Regions from separate parts of the Homo sapiens genome. Here regions 1 and 3 are each linked to region 2. The links are contacts of gene promoters, found by promoter capture Hi-C in blood cells and fetal thymus (Javierre and others, 2016). All regions are on one chromosome and are shown on one strand. Each heading gives the region's core, a stretch centred on a gene start or on the middle of the fragment in contact. The rest is flanking DNA. Distances are from core to core; before and after follow the strand shown.

What was found. The method cuts DNA at HindIII sites, captures the fragments that hold promoters and counts their contacts. A CHiCAGO score of 5 or more calls a contact.
Region 1: a fragment that was not itself captured here is called in contact with the fragment with the promoter of IL1F10 in region 2 in 4 of 17 cell types (M1 macrophages, M2 macrophages, M0 macrophages and 1 more); the score reaches 9.5 in M1 macrophages.
Region 3: the fragment with the promoter of CKAP2L here is called in contact with the fragment with the promoter of IL1F10 in region 2 in 1 of 17 cell types (M1 macrophages); the score reaches 6.1 in M1 macrophages.

The regions. Positions count from the first base shown.
Region 1 is chr2:112,742,282-112,746,336 of GRCh38, reverse strand. CKAP2L (cytoskeleton associated protein 2 like) reads left to right here. Exons shown (of 9, transcript NM_152515.5): 7 at 3,568-3,631. It also overlaps a transcript of NT5DC4 not described here. Among named protein-coding and RNA genes, the nearest start is that of CKAP2L, 20 kb to the left of the region's middle. The HindIII fragment of the contact is 823 bases long and covers 1,503-2,325 here.
Region 2 is chr2:113,065,212-113,069,503 of GRCh38, reverse strand. It overlaps IL1F10 (interleukin 1 family member 10), which reads right to left and starts at 1,534. Exons shown (of 5, transcript NM_173161.3): 1 at 1,488-1,534. The HindIII fragment of the contact is 1,248 bases long and covers 1,187-2,434 here.
Region 3 is chr2:112,761,805-112,766,171 of GRCh38, reverse strand. CKAP2L (cytoskeleton associated protein 2 like) reads left to right here and starts at 1,563. Exons shown (of 9, transcript NM_152515.5): 1 at 1,563-1,610; 2 at 3,603-3,669. The coding sequence starts at 1,574. RefSeq lists a silencer at 1,184-1,343 and an enhancer at 1,794-1,933. The HindIII fragment of the contact is 4,243 bases long and covers 1-2,276 here.

The DNA of each region.
Region 1 (4,055 bases), core at 665-3,164, 320 kb after region 2:
AAGTTTGCAACATCAATATCCAACACTTATAAAGTCATACCTTACCATAAAGAACTTAAAAATATATTAAACCCAATACGTCAGCATCCTTAAATCAATAATTCAGAGCCATTGCATGAAATAACTTTTAATTCTAAAATTTAGAAAAAAAAACTATATAATTATTATTTACAAAAACTGCATCAAATAGTTTTATAATGCTTTTCCTTAAAATGTCATTTTCCATGTCATGTTCTGTATTCTGTGTGATACCTTTTTCCATAATGGTTCAAAATCAGAATTGTACATGCACATAGTTTAAGCAGTCAAGTAGTTTGATAAGTTTCGTTCAGTAAGACCTCTGCCTTCCTTCCCTCCCATTTTCCCCTTCCTAGAGCAAACTGATTTATTTTTATATTAACCTCTATAGTTTCAGAAAACGTGTTTCTGTTTCTTGATTTTTCAGTTTTAGATATGATTTATGGACTTCCAGCTATGCAGAGTGAAGATTTAGCCCTCTTTCACACATACATACACAGATCCCCAGCACACACAAATACACACCCCTATTTACCATCCTTATAGACCTTTGCCATTCCTTATACTTTCATTAGAGTCATGGAAATTCTGGTCACTATTTAGCATTCACATTGTTATGAATATATAAGAAATATATGGGCTGGGCACGGTGTTTCACGCCTGTAATCCCAGCACTTGGGGAGGCCGAGGCAGGTGGATCACAAGGTCAGGAGATCGAGACCATTTTGGCTAACATGGTGAAACCCCATCTCTACTAAAAAATACAAAAAAGTTAGCCGGGCGTGGTGGCGGGCACCTGTAGTCCCAGCTACTCGGGAGGCTGAGGCAGGAGAATGGCATGAACCTGGGAGGCAGAGCTTGCAGTGAGCCGAGATCGGGCCACTGCACTCCAGCCTGGGCAACAGTGCAAGACTGTCTCAAAAAAAAAAAAAAATACATGAATATGTTGAGCCATGCAATATATACTATGATTACTTTGCCTTTCAAGCACAACTTTCTACTTTTCCTGGAGTTATTGTCTTGTTTTGCCTTTGCTTAGTTTTCTGAGTATTTATTATATAATTAATTCACAAACTCTTCGCTAATTGTCTAAGTTCCTCAATACTTTGAAAACATCAGATATTCTATTGATTCCTTTTTCTTAGATAAAGAGCTTTCTCCTAGACCCTTCTGGCTTATTCCAGACTGAACAAGTTACTTTTTACTGCCGTCTTCACCAGCTGTCTTTCTGGGATCTCTTTACCATCACCTTTAGATTCCCTTTACATCCTTCTTAAGTTGGGTGGATCCCTTGTTTTTAGAACCCATATTAGTTTTCTTCTTCCTACATTGTCTATTTCTTCTCCAATGTTTTTCATTTCTTTCTCTCTTGTTATTGTTTGTTTGTTCTTTTTGTTTTGTTCTCTATTATTCTTTAAAGGCTTTACACAGATGCTGGTGAAACTGGGCTGTTTGCACATATAAAAGGTGGGTCTGAAAAAGCTTATTTAAAGCCCGAGACACATGGATGGGGCTTCAACACAGGGTGATCTGGCTGAGTTGACTAGTTAGAAAACCCTCAATATCAGTATCTTTAGGTCTTTCCTCTTAAGCTGGTCAAGTTATCTGGAGAAATCTGTTCCAATCTCCTTCCTGGGAGCTAGACACCAGGCTGCCAGTGCTGTGGGAGAGAAGAGAGCAGGGAGTCTCAACCCTCAACATAGAAACTTTTGCTTATCTCCTTTTCTCAGAAAGCACCCTATCCTAATCTTGCATGATATCCCTCAGAGACTTGCAGAATACATTCCCAGTTTTCTGTTAGGATGAAGGGAGTCAGACACAGTTACTAGGCTGCATAGAGTTTAGGGGTGCAGGATGGATTTGGAGGTCTGACTGCTTTTTGAACAGATGCTAAAGAGTCCTCCTAATTTGGGCCCTACCACCCATTCCTTAGCCTTTCTGTCAGGTTGTTTCTTAGCCACACTGCCAGCTTGGGATTCAACTCTCTCAAGTAGATCAAATTGTTTACCTCTCTTCCTTCTGCACTGCAGCTTCCAAAACCTTATTGTCATTTCTTCTCTCCTATGTTTTGTGGTTATTGCCTCTTCTTAATCCCTTTATTATCCTTTCAGTCGATTTTCAAGAGAGATTAGAAATAAACGTATATTTAATCCACCATCATTAACCAGAAGGCTATACAAATATAAAATATGCTTGATGAATGTTGTATAGAATTCACTCTTTGTAATATATTCTATACATTTATTCCCATTCATTTAGCTGAAATCATAATTCTATTTTGGATTTTGAAAAAATGTACGGAAAGCTTTGCTTTTATGCTTTATTGTCAGTTTATATCTATTTGATACAGAGTTCCAGGTAAGGAAGACAAACCTCCAACTATAATTTTCTTGTGGGAAAGTGCAGCTTCTGCTTCATGGCATGGTTTACATACTTGAAAAATAAAGCCTATCTCAGATAATTTTATCAGAAAATTACTTTTCCATGAAGGTTTTTTTTTCTAAGTATGTTAACAAATAAAAGAAGAAAGACAGGAAAAGCTGGAGAAAATTACTCAAAATGCCTACAAAGATTGTATCTGGGCCAGGCACAGTGGCTTACCCCTGTAATCTCAGCACTTTGGGAGGCTGAGGCAGGCGGATCACTTGAGATCAGGAGTTTGAGACCAGCCTGGCCAACGTAGCGAAACCCCGTCTCTACTAAAAATAGAAAAATTAGCCAGATGGGGTGGCGCATGCCTGTAATCCCAGCTCTTCGGGAGGCTGAGGCAGGAGAATCACTTGAACCCTGGAAGTGGAGTTTGTGGTGAGCCGATACCGCACCATTGCACTCCAGCTTGGGTGACAGAGACTCCATCTCAAAAAACATTGTGTTTGGGGCCAGGTACAGTGGCTCACTCGTGTAATCCCAGCAGTTTGGGAGGCCGAGGCGGGTGGATCACGATGTCAGGAGATCGAGACCATCCTGGCTAACACGGTAAAACCCCATCTCTACTAAAAATACAAAAAATTAGCTGGGCGTGGTGGTGGGCGCCTGTAGTCCCAGCTACTTGGGAGGCTGAGGCAGGAGAATGGCATGAACCCAGGAGGCAGAGCTTGCAATGAGCCGAGATCGCGCCACTGCACTCCAGCCTGGGACAGAGTAAGACTCTGTCTCAAGAAAATATATCTATATCTATATATAAAATGCATTTTCTGTGTGGCTAGCTTTACATCATTGGGCCAGAATTTTTATGTAGGAATACATATTTGACAGTATTATACAAATCAATAGGAAAATAGAATTTGATGTAGACAAATTACATTATGGACAACTTTAAATACATCTGTTCATTAAGTCGAGTGTGCCAACACTTAATCAGAATTTTCTCTGTTCCTTTACTTTTCTCATGAAGCTATAAAACTGTCAAGCTAGACAAAAGATTTATAGTTAGACGAGATTTTAAAAGGAAACTTTTATTATAAAACATGTATTTGAAGTTAAAGTTCCTTAGCAAATTTTTTGCATGAATGTTTTTAAGATTTTGTATGTTTTCTTCCTTCCTTCCAGCCAATACAAGAGTTGCGGAAAGTTGTTCTTAATATCTTGCAAGACTCAAACAGAACCACAGAAGGTACTATTATTTTTGAATTTAAATTCATCTTCTCTAGCTGTACCAGTAAAAATCATCCAGGACATATAGGAAAAAGAAGAAAAGAATCATCCCCTGAAATGCTTCTCACTTCTTGGTTTCCATGACCTGGCCCTTTCAGCCATTGTCATCAGCTGACTTATTTGTATTATTACAAGTAAATGCACTACTCAATACTGAACAAAGGTTGTTTCCACCAAAACAGCCTAGACTGGAGTGTCCCACTTCCTTGGAATCCTAGATGGCAGAAGACAAACAGCTCTTTGCTGGAAGAGACTGAGGCAGAAAGGAGAAATGCCTTAAGTTACATGTTTAATCATAATAAACCCACCAACATACTCATCTAAATTTGTGTTACGCTTTAAAAATAGCTATCTCAGGAATCTCTTCAATTGGATGACCATCA
Region 2 (4,292 bases), core at 285-2,784:
AAACCTGAGACTCATTGACAATATCTCCTACTTCTCCTGACTCAGTGTCTAACTTATCAAGTCCCTACAGGTTATTTCTTTAAAATATAACTTTGTGTTTTTAATTGCCATTACTACTGTACTTGTATTCCCGGTTTTTCTGCCTTTCATTCATTCCAACCTATGTGAGGAATGTGGACCCACGTTCTAAAGATTTTTTTCACCACATCCCTGCCCAGCTCTAGAATCTACAGTGACTGACTGTTTTGTCACCGTCTGGCACTGATTTTCTTGTGTGATAGCATCTCACTTCTCCATGGACACTAAACCACACCTCCTGGCGACATAATTCCTTTCTTATCTTCTCAGTGGACGTACTCACAGGTGTCCCATTGTTCTCCCTGCCTCAAAAGTCATCCCTTCTCATTGTCATCCATTCAGATCTTTTGATATTAAGATCACTGGAGATAGTATCAGTATAGATGGGTTCAGTATCTAGTTCTATCAAATTAATTACCAGTGTAGAGTTACAGCTTAGACATACAGGGTTATGTCTTTTAACCTCCAACCCTCAGTTTCAGCACTATACATTCATGGGATTAGATTATGTGGTTATGAAGGTTCTTTCTAGGCCAAACTATTTATAATTCCATGACTCAGAGTTTAATGAATCTTTCCCTTACTATTGTAACTCTACTCTGAACTCCTATTAAATTTTACTGTATTATTTATTGTTGTACATAAAGATATTTGTTTCCCTTATAAAAGTTTATAAGATCTTGAAGTCATGAAGCATGGCTTACAGCTCACTTGAAGCTCTCTCCAACCACCCTAATTGAACTACCCTGGTCCTTGTGGCCAGGACATAGAAACACACAGAGCAGACTTTGAATAGAAAGGCTGAGTCCTAGACCTAGCTCTGCTACCAATTTATTTTGCCACCTTTTATCCCTGGGCCTTCAACTTATCAACATTGGATGGAAAGATTGAGTAAGGTATCTTTCAAAACTGTTTTAAGTTTCACAATAAAATTTTATGCAGAATTCTAATGATTGTAAAAAGGATAAAGGGCAGCTGCTTTGCTGACACAGGAAGCAATGGAGACTTTGGAACCCTGCTAGTATTTCTCTTGCCTACAAAGAAGACACTGAGGAGCTACCAAGGAGCACAAAAAAAAAAAAAACGAAAACAAAAAATCTCTTAAGCTTCCACCAAACACGGTTTGAATACCATTGGCCCAGATGGTTTCTTTTGAGATTACTTTCTAAAGTCAGTTGTTCTAAGTAGTTCAGAAATCTTGATTTGGCTTAACCTATTCCTTCTCCTCAAATCTCTTTATGTGCTCCTAAATGTTTTTGATGTCCCATCATGTCATATGAGGGGACTACCTTGTTACCTAGACAGCTTGCCAGGAGGAGTGAAGGGATAGAGGGCATACCAGAGATATTGACAGGAGAGAGTAGAAAAGAAAGAAAAGAGAGAGAGAATATTGCCTGTCCATCACTGACCTGCAGATCCTGAGTTCCTGGAACCCTGATCCCTGGAGACTCCAACTGATTTCTCCAGGGCATTGCGCTGTGTTTATACCGTCTGGTACAGGTGGGTCAGGCCTGCACCAATCTCTATAATTGGCTGCAGGACATGAAGGAAGAAGAGCCTGGGCATTTCACAATGTCTTTGGTACAGCATGAATAATAAGATGGTGGGAACATTAAGGAGCATTTGTTGAAGGGGGAGAGAGTCATCCATAAAGCCTTGGCAGAAATAAGGTATGGGGCCCCTGCTCTGTACTGACTGTCGTTGACTATGTTATTAGTGGGTTTGCAGCCAGATAAACAGTGCTGGGGTCAGACATCTTTGGTGCCCCGTGGGGCTCCATCCTAGGCTTGAAGAGGTGGTGAATACAAGAGAAAGTATGTCTGGCAAGCCCAAGGACAGAACAAATTCTGATGCCGGAATCCAGGCTGTGGCCAGACAGCCAGAATAAGAGAAGGGGCTGATAGCACTGTGAGTGTGACTCTGTTTGGAAAGACGAGAAGGGAGTCTCTGCTTTTCAGTGGGTTTAATTAGTTGGTACCAGCTTGATGGGACAGAACATCTAGGGAAACCCAACTGCAAAGATATTGACCTCAGATTCACCCTGAGACTGAGCAGACATCATGTGCCATGGACTGCTAGGAAATATGATAGTGTGAGTAGAGCACAGAGGAAAGAACACTCAGGTCTCTAATTGACATTACTTGACTCAGTCCATCCATCCATCCATCCACCCGGCCACCCATCTGTCCATCTATCTACCCATCTGTCCATTCTTCCATCCATCCATCATCCATCCAACCATCCATCCACCCATGTGCCCATCCATCCACCCTTCTGTCCACCCTTTCATCCATCCATTCATCCATCCATCCATCCATCCATCCATCCATCCCTCCATTACAAGCGTGGAGAAGCTTAGGTGTAATGTTCTCTGGAAACTAACAACCTTATTATAATTCTCCCTCTTTGGTCATTTGCAAAGTTCCACCAAGGGCTTCTTGAGGAAGTGGGATAGGTGGGTCTAAGACTCAGATGCCTGCAGGATGAGAAATGAGAAAAGATGGGCAGAAATGGGACCAGATTTCTGCTTTCTAAGGCCAGTGATCATTCTTCTTCCACTCTCCCAATCTCTCACCCTTCTATGGGAAGGCTTAAAGCATGAGTTACTATGTCAGGCAACCAATGAGTGTTTACCCAGCATTTACACTGCTGTGTGACACAGACATTCAATACACAGTCCTTGTTGTTAAGTAGTTTCACAGTCTAGCTGAGGAACTAAGTCATAAACACTTGAAAAGATAATTAAGAAGACCAGACTCTCTAAGCTGTGGGCCAAGGACATGTTGGAAACAATAGTGGCAGATAAGCTCCTTGGGCAAAAAAAAAATCTTAGAATTGAAAGGACTTTAGGCCAGGCATGGTGGCTCATGCCTGTATCCCAACACTTTGGGAGGCTAAGGCAGGCAGATCCCTTGAGGTCAGGAGTTCAAACCAGCCTGGCCAACATGGTGAAACCTCGTGTCTACTAAAAATAGAAAAATTAGCCAGGCATGGTGGCATGCACCTGTAGGCCCAGCTACTTAGGAGGCTGAGGCAGGGGAATCACTGGAACCTGGGAGGCAGAGGTTGCAGTGGGCCAAGATGGCACCACTGTACTCCAGCCTGGGCGACAGAGTGAAACTCCATCTCATAGACATGGAATCATAGTTTCCCTCCAATTGGAGAAATCTGTGCTATGGCATCCCTGAGAAATTGGTTAATTAGGCTCTGCCTTAACATCTCCAGGGTCAGGGACCACACAACCTCTTGAAGAAACCCTATCAATGTTTGTGGTCCTTGTGGTTAAAATATGGGGGTCATATAGGAAAAACAGCCTCCACATAATTTGCACCCATTGGTTCTGCTTGTGTGTTCTGGAATTACACAGAACAAGCACATTCTTCTACTTGGCAAGCCTTTAAGTGCTTGAAGAGGGCTCCCTGTGCATTGCTTTTTTCAGGATAATACCTCCCACATCGTAGCCTCTTCCCTACAGCCTGCCCTTGGAACATTCTCTGTTCCTCGATGTCTGCAATTTGTACAAACCCCACATGATGTGAGTATTGCATCTCTGTAAATACAGGTCCAGGCCAGTGATTTATACCAAAATTGCAGAAATCTAAAGCCACTAACTCTTTTTCACTTGTAGAGTCATGATGTCCAGCCTGTACATTCCTGAAGGAGGCATTTTATATTCCTTCTTTTACTACTGACTTGTGTCGGCTCATCATGGCTAAAGCTCTTCTGAGTTCTGTCATCCTACAAATGAGGAAGCAACAAATTCAGGCTGGAGAAACCTTCAAGAATGAGGTGGAATTTAAGCTGCTCCCTTAGAGGTGGGCCTGTTTAGATGGGTGGAGGAGAAGGAGAGAATATTCCAGGGTGGAGAAATAGTTTCTACATTATATACTCATTGGGTTTCCATTATGTGCCAAGCATTATGCAAGGTGCTAAGAGACAAACTTATATGTCCCTAACCTTAAGGTCATCCCAGGGGCCACAGACTCCAAGTTAAGGTACTACAGTGCAGGGAGGTGCATACAAACATTGCCAGATCAGATAGCTGGGGGTGTCTCAACTCAGTAAAAGCTTCTTGGAGGAGGTGACATCTTAGCAGGGTATTGAAAGATGAGAGATTTATCTAGGCAGAGAGGATGGATGGAGGACCCAAAAGCAGAGGGAGCAGCACAAGACTGTGTCTGGGCCCATGGACAAAGAGAGTGTGAACAGGGTCT
Region 3 (4,367 bases), core at 314-2,813, 300 kb after region 2:
TTCCAAACTCCCTATTTACGGCTAAAGAGAAGGGCTGCTGCAGTGGCTTCATGCCCTGCTGAGTACCCAACTGGTAAGCTGAACCTGGCCAACAGGTGCCCAGATATGACTGCCCCTCCACACACGACTTCTCCAGCATCCATGGAAGAGGAACCTTCATACACAAGGAGCCAAAAGCATTTTCCAGACCTCTTTAAGAAACTGGAGAATAGATGAAACAGGACAAACTTCAAAAGAAAAAAAATTTAGGATTAAAACAAGGGGAATGAAGTGTGTCTAGGGATTCAGGACAACGAGGCCTGCGATCTCCTAGTAACTAGGAGAAACTAGGCCTGCGTTTCTCCGTTAGCCTTATGGCCTTATAGTCAGCTGATCAGGTGAAATCGAAAATATACCTTGAACAAGAGATCACCGTGAGAGGAGTAAGGCAGTTTCTCAAAAAATTAAAAATAGAATTGCCGTTTGATCCAACAATACCACTTCGTGGTATATACCCAAAAGAATGAAAAGGAGAGTCTCAAAGAGTTATTTGTGCATTCATGTTCATATTATTATTCACAATAGCCAAAAAGTGGAAGCAACTCAAGTGTCCGGAGAGGGATGGACCAAGAAGCAAAATGTGGCATCTCCACACAACGAAATGCTATTCCCCCTTAAAAGGAAAGGAAATTCTGACACATGCTACACATGGATGAACCTTGAATACTTTATGCTAAGTGAAACAAGCCAGTCACAGAACAAATACTGCATGATTCTACTTATATGGCACCTACAGTTGTCAAATCCATAGAGACAGAAACTAGAATGGTGATTGCCTGGGGCTGGGGGAGGGAGGAGTGCGGAGTTAGTGACGGGTACAGGGTTTCATTTGGGAAGATGAAAAAGTTCTGGAAAGGACAGTAGTGGTGGCTGTGCCACAATGTGAGGGTACTTAATACCACTAAACTGCACATTTTTGAAAAATTTAACACTTTAAAATGGTTAAAATGGTATATGTGATGTTATGCATATTTTACCACAATTAAACGAGCCACCCTGCAGTACTAAGAACTAGGAGCCTTTAGATGCATAAGACCCATATGTCCTCTTTATAATATTATTTTTTCACAGCTCCTGTGAGTCTGAGACTTTGAAAGGACAGAATCAGGTAGCGGCCCCAGCATCCTGGGAGGACCGCCCTGTCTCTCCGCCCAGGGACTCCCGGCGCGCCAACCCCAGCTGGATTCAGCGTAACCGCCCCCCAACCACCAGCCCGGCTGAGGCCCCCACGGAGGGTCCCACGCCCACTCGGAGGCGCACTCACAGGCGCACTCAGAGGCGGGCGGCGCCGCGCCCCGAGGAAGCCGCCCTCAATGCCGAGGTGCGCTGCACGTTCTTCCAATCAAAGGGCCCCAAGGTCGGGTTCTCAAGGCCAGAGCCAACCGCAAAGAGCCTATTGCCTGTTGTCCCGCCCTCCCGTGCTGACGACTAGCGAGTTTCAAACCCGCAGGAGCCAATGAGGACGCGTGGACGCGCGGCACGCCGGTCCTGGCTACAGGCGCGGCGTTTGAAGAAAAACTGTCACTGAAGAGTCATGGTGGGGCCCGGGCCTACCGCTGCTGCCGCTGTCGGTGAGTACGACCGCTGTTCCCGTTATTCTCAGGCGTTGGAACACGGCCGGGGAAGTAGGAGGCCACCGAGTGAGTTCGTCCCGCGGGAGGTGCCCGTCCGCTCGCCTGCCTAAGTTTCCCCTGGGCGTTTTCCATCCCGGGAGCGCAGACGGGACCCCCAGGTAGACGTCTGGGTCCTGGGCGGGGGAGGCTGTGCGCAGGCCCAGATACCTCACGGGCGTATTTCCAGAAAGCCCTGCAGCAGCCTTGCAAAGAGATGTCATTGTCACCACGTTCCGGATAAAGAAACTGAGGCCCCTTGCTCGGGTTTTCACCAGCAGTGGGAAGCTGCGCGCTGTTTTGATCCACATTTGGCTCCAGGCAGAGCCGGGCGTGGTCCTCTGTGCCAGGAGGCGGGGTCTGGCCGAAGCCCGGGTCTCCTGCCTCTGGCGGGGCTCTCACTCCACACCTCTCAGCCTGCGGTGGTTAGAAGTTGATTGGTTAAATCTGCACCCAGGGCTAAGGCTTCTGCGTTCCCTAATCTCTTAGATGTGCTTGGAGCCCTTTCCTACCTTTCAAAATACTCCTGCTCAGATGCCACTTTCTCCAAGATACGCACCGTTGTTTTGTTTCATCCATTATTCCTGTTGATGCCTACGAGGTCCTAGGCACTTTACATAACAAGCTTTAAAGATGGCATTTCTGTCCGCCTTATAGGCTTAGCAGCAGCAAAGTTTGCTAATTTGCTAGAAGTCACGGAGGTGGGACTCCAACCCCCTATGTCAGCCCCTACGCTCTACATTGCCCGCCAAGCTGTCTCTAAGGATAGATACATGAGCATCAGAGAGCAAAACAGGGCAACTCCGTTCAGATGAGGTTAAGAGTCGTTTGGCACCCCTGTCGTCTTTTTGTCTTCCTTCACATCATTATTTACTTTTAACCTTTTCTAGCCACCTACTCCCCTCATTTATGCCCTACCTCTGAACTCCCATACTTCTTTTCGTCTCTTATGGCCCTTAGATTTTACCTTATACTGTAATTGTTGCTGTGTTGATTTTATCTCCACTACTAGTTTGAAAGTTCTTGAAGGCAGAAATTATTGACTTGTCATCCCCTCACAAATGGCTTGCGTAGAAAGTCACCATAGTATAGGTGTCTGCCGTGAGCAGACCGGGCGTATTTTATCCTTAGTACCAACAAAGGAAGCCATATAAGGGTTTGTGGGTAAAAATCATCATCCCTGTAAAAAAACAAAAGACGTAAGACCAGGCCTGGCTCACCAGCTCAGGTGGGCCAGTAACAGAAATTCTTCAAAACAGACTGTTGTAGCTGAGAACAGTGGCTGTGAGCTCCAGGGTTAGAAAAGCCTGTTTTCAAGTCCTGGAATTGCCACATATTAGCTGGGTAACTTTGGGCATGACATTTACTCTCTCTGAATTTCAGATTGCAAAAACTCATTGGATTGTTTTGTGGATTGAAAGCAATAATGTAAATTTAGGCCGAGTGCTTTGACTTACGCCTGTAATCCTAGCACTTTGGGAGGCCAAAGCAGGAGGGTCACTTGAGCTCAGGAATTTGAGACCACCCCTGGCAACATAGTGAGATCCTGTCTCTACAAAAAATTTTTTTAAAATTATCCAGCATGGTGGTACACGCCTGTATTCCCAGCTACTCAGGAGACTGAGGTGTGAGGATTGCTAGAACCTGGGAGATCAAGTCAACAGTGAGCCGTGGTTGTGCCACTGCCCTCCAACCTCAGTGACAGAGGAAGACCCTGTCTCAAAAAAAAAAAAAAAAGTAGTAAGTTTAAAGAACTTAGTGTAGGCCTGGCATATAAATGATATTGTTGATGTTGATGTTAGCTTGAAGGCACATTTATAGGACTAGGGATTTTATAACATTATGTTGCAAAGGCAAAATCACTAGAGAAAAGTGTCATCTTTTAGAATATTAATGAACTGGTTAAAATCTTGAACTAAAGTTATGTCGTTTGTTTGCTTGCCTGTGTTGCAGAAGAGCGGCAGAGAAAGCTTCAGGAGTACCTTGCAGCCAAGGGAAAACTGAAGAGCCAAAACACCAAGTGAGTTTATCTGTCCACAGTTACGCAAGTTTTGTTGCCTTCTTTGTACTAGCAATTTAAAGCCTTTTTGAAAAATGTCCCTTTTGCTTAGAGTCTACTCAGACTGCACTGGGATTCTATGATAACGCAAAAAGAGCATTTCAGTCCAGGCATGACAAAAACCCCTGGGCAGTGCTTAGTCCATTGGCAAAGCTTTATGCATTATTACTGTGTGAATCTCCAAAGGAAGGAGGGAAGAAGGGTCAGTATTACCTACCATGCTGGAAGCTTTGCCTGTTTCTGCTTTTTTTTTCTTGGGGAAGTTGATTCTCATGAAGGCAGTTTTTGGTCAAGAACTTGAATGACCATGGTTCTGGCATTTCTTGCTAAGGCAGGAGAGCCAGTTACAATCAATCCTCCGTAGCAGAGTGATACCCTCTGCTCTTGGGTCATTCTCTTAGCATTTACTGTTAAGGTAGACAGAACATGTCCACTTCATTTTTATCCTTTGTAGATTCTTACCATCTTTGTCGTGTTATTTGTCCTTTCTTAGCATTAATTAATTTTTTCCCCATTTGAGTTGCTAAGTATTTATTTGAAAATTAATTTTTACAAAGTTAGCTTTCACCCTTTATTTTATCTTGGGTGTTTACTCACCTCTATTTCCTTGATTAAATGAACCTAATTCACTTATTCAACAAATATTTATTTAGTACCTA